Linked DNA regions of Homo sapiens: region 1 is linked to region 2. The links are contacts of gene promoters, found by promoter capture Hi-C in blood cells and fetal thymus (Javierre and others, 2016). All regions are on one chromosome and are shown on one strand. Each heading gives the region's core, a stretch centred on a gene start or on the middle of the fragment in contact. The rest is flanking DNA. Distances are from core to core; before and after follow the strand shown.

Region 1 (2,700 bases), core at 108-2,607, 260 kb after region 2:
TTCTTAGAACACATGGGCACATTTCAGCCTCAGGGCCTTTGCGCATGCCATTCCCTCATCCTGAAATGCTTTTCTTTTGGTCTTCCCAGGACAGAGGTCTCAGCTCACATCACAAGTCACTACCTCTGCAGAGAGGTCTTCCCTGACCACCATCACCATCTCTGTCGTTTGTCACTGGAATCATCTCCATTATTTCATCACCGAGTTCTTTTCTGTGTTCCCAAGCAGAACGTCAATTCCACGAGGGCACAGATTTTTTGTCTGTTTGTTCACATTGTGGGGTGTCGCTGCATAAATACATTTCCCCTGCATCTTTTCCGACTGCACCTTTGGCTGCATTTCCTACAAATTCCTTTATGTAAAAAGAACAAGTCTGTAAAACTTGGGAAGACAGTCGTGGGCCGAGGGTGTCAGTCTGCAGCCGGTTCTGATACCAGAGTCCGGGCGGCTGTGGGTGCACCGGGGCTGCCTGTGGAGCCGCTGGTGTCCAGCCCGTCGCGCTGGGGCGATGAGCGCTCCGAGCCGCTGAAGCTCCCATCAAGGCCCGGGGGCAGGCAGCGGCGCAGGCCCCCGGAAGCCTCAGCCGCGCTCGCCGACTGCTGGGAGCCACTCGGGTCTCTGCCGCAGGAGTGGCGTCCGCAGCAGACCAGGCGCAGGAGCGCGTGGCGCAGGTCGCGGTTGGTGAGCGTGTAGATGATGGGGTTCAGAAGTGAGTTGGCCATGGCCAGTCCCAGGAAGGGATCGGCCTGCAGGAGTACAGGACAGGTGCGCGCCGGGCACGCCACGTCGAGCAACAGCAGCAGGAAGAGGGGGCCCCAACATGCCACAAAGGCCAGGAGCACCACGCTGAGCGTGCGCAGCAAGGCCAGCGAGCGCGGCTTGCGACGCGCCCGGGTCGAGGTGGTCCCCGCAGTCCCGGGCCGTGCCGGCAGGCGCCGCGCGTTGGCGCGTACCTGGCAGTAGATGCGCGCGTAGAGTGCACAGATAGCGGCCAGGATGCCCACGAAGGCGAGCACGCAGAAGAGCACGTAGGCCTTGGCGTAGAGCGGCAAGACAGTGGAGCAAGCGTCCAGGCGACCCAGGCAATTCCAGCCCAGCGCTGGCAGGAGCCCGAGGAGCAGCGACACGCCCCAGGCCGCGGCTGCCATCGCCAGCGTGCGCCCCCGACTGGAGACGGGCGCGGGCCCCCTGCGCGCCATGGTGAGGCTGCGCTCCAGCGCGATGGCCAGGAGGCTCAGCACGGACGCAGTGAGTGCCACGAAGACGCCTCCCTCCCGTGCGAACCAGAGCGCGGGGGACAGTTTCAGCGTGAGCGGCCCCGACAGTAGGATGTTGGCGGCGTAGGCGGCGCCTGCCAGCAGATCCGACAACGTGAGGCTGCCCAGGAGCAGGAACATGGGAGCGTGGAAGCGCGGGTGGCGTCCGAGCACCAACAACACGGCTAGATTCTCTAGCACGATGAAGGCGCACACCGCCAGGCACACCACGGCGTCGGCGCGCAGGCCGGCACCCGGCTGGTAGCGCGCACCGCGGAGCTTGCCGGTGTAGTTGTAATGCAGGACGATGACCTCGCTCACCGGCGCCGGCCGCAGCAGCCCCGACTCCATGGGCCGCGCGCCCCAAGGCTGTTGGAGAGGCAAGATACGGTGTCAGGCCGCGGTCCCCGTAAGCACGCTCGCAGCAGCCGGCTAAGTCGTGGGAAAGGGGCCCTACCCACTGACCATCACCCCCTATACATGGTGTCCAAGGGGGAGTTCAGGATGGAGGGATAGAGTCCGTGGAGACAGACATACACACAAATAATATCACGAGGGAACAAGGTGACATAGTCCCAAAAAAAGGGACATTAATAACACATGAATGGCTGGGCGCGGTGGTTCACACATGGCTGGGCGCGGTGGCTCAGGCCTGTAATCCCCGCCTGTAATCCCCCCAGGCTCAGGCCTGAGGCAGTGGCTCAGGCCTGGGAGGCCAAGGGGGGCAGATCACGAGGTCAGGAGATCGAGACCATCCTGGCTAACACGGTGAACCCCTCCGTCTCTGCTAAAAACACAAAAAATTAGCCAGGCATGGTGGCACGTGCCTGTAGTCCCAGCTACTCCAGAGGCTGAGGCAGAAGAATCATTTGAACCCAGGAGGCGGAGGTTGCAGTGAGCCGAGATCGCATCACTGCACTCCAACCTAGGTGGCAGAGCGAGACTCTGTCTCAAAACACCCCCCCTCCCCACCAAACACACACACGGCTGGGTGTGGTGGCTCACTCCTGTAATTCCAGCACTTTGGGAGGCTGAGGCGGGAGGATTGTTTGAGGCCCAGGAGTTCGAGATTAGCCTGGACAACATAGGAGAACCCCGTTTCTACAAAAATTAGCCGGGACGTGTTGGTGTATGCCTATAGTCCAAGCTACTCAGTGGAGTCCCAGCTGAGGTGAGAGGATCACTTGAGCCCGCGGGGTCAAGGCTGCAGTCAGTGAGCATTGATTGTGCCACTGTACTCCAGCCAGGACAACAGAGCAAGACTTTGTCTCAAACACACACACACAAACACACAAGCAGGGAGTTCCAGAGACGTAACAGTAAACACACAGAACGCACACAAACGCAACACACACAGAAAGAGACACACAAATACAGCGACACACTACAAGGGCAAAACACACAGTCACACACTATCAGGGAAACTAAAAAATACATCATACAG
Region 2 (2,700 bases), core at 104-2,603:
CAGAGCGATACTCCATCTCAAAATACAAATACAAAATAAAAAAATACAATACAAAAATGAGCCGGGCTTGCGTACCTGTAGACCAGCTACTCAGGAGACAGAGGCAGGAGAATCCCTTGAGCTCTGGAGGTCGAGGCTGCAGTAAGCCATGATCTTGCCCATTGCACTCCAGCCTGGGCGACAGAGGAAGACCTTGTCTCTAAAAACCAAAACAAAGAAACTAAAAATAAGCATTCGGATTTGTTAGGGGGCGACAAGGGAGGCACTCCAGGATCTGTGGACTCCCCACTTTGTTCTGTCCTTGGAGAGCCCTGGAAGGTCTGAGAGGGGACGGGACCTGGTTTAAGGGGGTAGGGGAGAGGACCCTGGTCTAGGGGGTAAGGGACACAAATACCTAATCTGAGGGGTTTCGGGGGGACATGGCCCTGCCCTGGGGAATCTAAACTGGGAGGCATGGTCTGGCAGGCCCAATCCTGAAGGCTTTCTGAGGGCAATAAGGCCCTGCCTTTAAACAAATGAAAAAACGCCAGGCACGGTGGCTCACGCCTGTAATCCCAGCACTTTGGAAGGCTGAGGCGGGAGGATCACGAGGTCAGGAGATCGAGACCATCCTGGCTAACGCGGTGATACCCGTCTCTACTAAAAATACAAAAAATTAGCCAGGCGTGGTGGCGGGCGCCTGCAGTCCCAGCTACTCGGGAGGCTGAGGCAGGAGAATGGCGTGAACCCAGGAGGCGGAGCTTGCAGTGAGCCGAGATCGCGCCACTGCACTCCAGCCTGGGCAACAGAGCAAGACTCCGTCTCAAAAAAAACAAAAACAAAAACAAAAACAAAAACAAAAAAACAAATAAAAAAACAAAACCACATAACTGGATAAAGAAAAAACCATCTCCGACAGCCTTGGAGGCGGGATGAAGGCGTGGCCCGGTGGGCGTGACCAACAGCAAAAGTTTAAGCGTTATTGGCTGTATTCCTTAGTTGCTCACTCCAGAACTGCCCACTTATGGGCGGGGGTCACTCCTTCAGGCTTAACAGTCATTGGCTGAATTGGGCCAGAGAGGTCTCATTGGCTGAATTCCTGCACCGGCTCGTCGGAGGCGGGACCCAAAGTAGGCTAGGCCTACGGAAGCTGGGTCTTCTTGCTGTGAGGTCGCGTTCCCCAGTGTTACGGAGGGTCCTTGAGGCAGGAGTGAAAATTGGGTCTGGGGGTTAGTCCTGGGGTGGAGGTCTGGGCACGCCGGGTCGGACCCCCTCCATCTTCGGTTTTGCACACCCCGCTTTCCAGCGCGGAGTCGCGGCGGGTAGGGCGGCGTCGCGTGCGTGACGTCATCCAGCGGCGCCTCGCGAGGCTCCAGTGGCCTTGACCTCCCGCGGCGTGGGAGGCTGCGCGGCGATGCTGCAGTTCGTCCGGGCCGGGGCGCGGGCCTGGCTTCGGCCTACCGGCAGCCAGGTGAGGCCAGGGGCTGGAGGCGTGGTCGAAGGATGAAATTTGGGGGTGTCCAGGGGTCGTCTCTCACTTTCGCCCAACCCTTGCAGGGCCTGAGTTCCCTGGCGGAAGAGGCAGCGCGTGCGACCGAGAACCCGGAGCAGGTGGCGAGCGAGGGTAAGGCAACCGGGGTGGCTCCAGGAGGGGCGGCGACAGAGAGGTCTGACCCTTGACCCTAACCTCTGACCCCCGCAATCGCTCCAGGTCTCCCGGAGCCCGTGCTGCGCAAAGTCGAGCTCCCGGTACCCACTCATCGACGCCCAGTGCAGGCCTGGGTCGAGTCCTTGCGGGGCTTCGAGCAGGAGCGCGTGGGCCTGGCCGACCTGCACCCCGATGTTTTCGCCACCGCGCCCAGGTGAGCGAGGGCTGTAATGGTGAACTGAGTGGCAGAGGGATGAAGAGCGGGATTTCAGGAGTCACGATGACTTTGGGCTTGTACCCTTGGGAAAGTGCTGTATTTCTACAGCCTCCGTTTCTCCACCTGTCAAAGGGGAATGATGACAGTTTCCCCTGCTGTAGCGCTGTGTGAGATTGAAGCCTGAGAGGTGACATCATCTAAGGGTTAGGGAGACAGAATTCTGGAGCCCGACTGATTAGGTTCAAATCCTGCCTTCCCCTCTTGTCCCTCAGTGTCCCTATTTTGTCAGCGGTCGGGAGGTTGCTGTGATGAATAAATGACTTAATTCTGGCACATAATAAGTTCTATAGAAATGTTGATAATCTTTGTTAACTGGTTTTTGCAAATAAGAGCACTAAAAAGACTAAACCATTCCTCGGTGCCTGGAAGAGGCTGTTTGCATTTTAGTTACCCTGCTGTTCATAACATCTCTAAGAAAATGTAGGGGCCACCCTGGGCGCAGTGGCTCACGCCTGTAATCCCAGCACTTTGGGAGGCCAAGGCGGGCGGATCACGAGGTCAGGAGATCGAGACCATCCTGGCTAACATGGTGAAACCCCGTCTCTACTAAAAATACAAAAAAAAATTAGCCGGGCGTGGTGGCGGGCGTCTGTAGTCCCAGGTACTCTGGAGGCTGAGGCAAGAGAATGGCGTGAACCCGGGAGGCGGAGCTTGCAGTGAGCCGAGATCGCGCCACTGCACTCCATCCTGGGCAACACTCTGTCTCAAAAAAAAAAAAAAAAAAGAAAGAAAAGAAAATGTAGGGGCCAGTTACTGTGGCTCACATCTGTAATCCCAGCACATTGGGAGGCCGAGG

Evidence for each region. Contacts are between HindIII fragments. The CHiCAGO score rates a contact against its expected background, and 5 or more counts as called.
Region 1: a contact is called between a fragment that was not itself captured here and the fragment with the promoter of MRPL4 in region 2, in 2 of 17 cell types (naive B cells and activated CD4 T cells). The highest score is 5.2, in naive B cells.

What each region holds. Positions count from the first base shown.
Region 1 is chr19:10,513,405-10,516,104 of GRCh38, forward strand. It overlaps S1PR5 (sphingosine-1-phosphate receptor 5), which reads right to left. Exons shown (of 2, transcript NM_030760.5): 2 at 1-1,625. The coding sequence starts at 1,607. The coding sequence ends at 411. Among named protein-coding and RNA genes, the nearest start is that of S1PR5, 2.7 kb to the right of the region's middle. RefSeq lists enhancers at 1,333-1,926, 1,927-2,520. The HindIII fragment of the contact is 3,006 bases long and covers 1-2,700 here.
Region 2 is chr19:10,250,861-10,253,560 of GRCh38, forward strand. MRPL4 (mitochondrial ribosomal protein L4) reads left to right here and starts at 1,354. Exons shown (of 9, transcript NM_015956.3): 1 at 1,354-1,450; 2 at 1,537-1,603; 3 at 1,691-1,841. The coding sequence starts at 1,394. RefSeq lists enhancers at 709-1,282, 737-886, 1,017-1,426, 1,283-1,856. The HindIII fragment of the contact is 20,723 bases long and covers 1-2,700 here.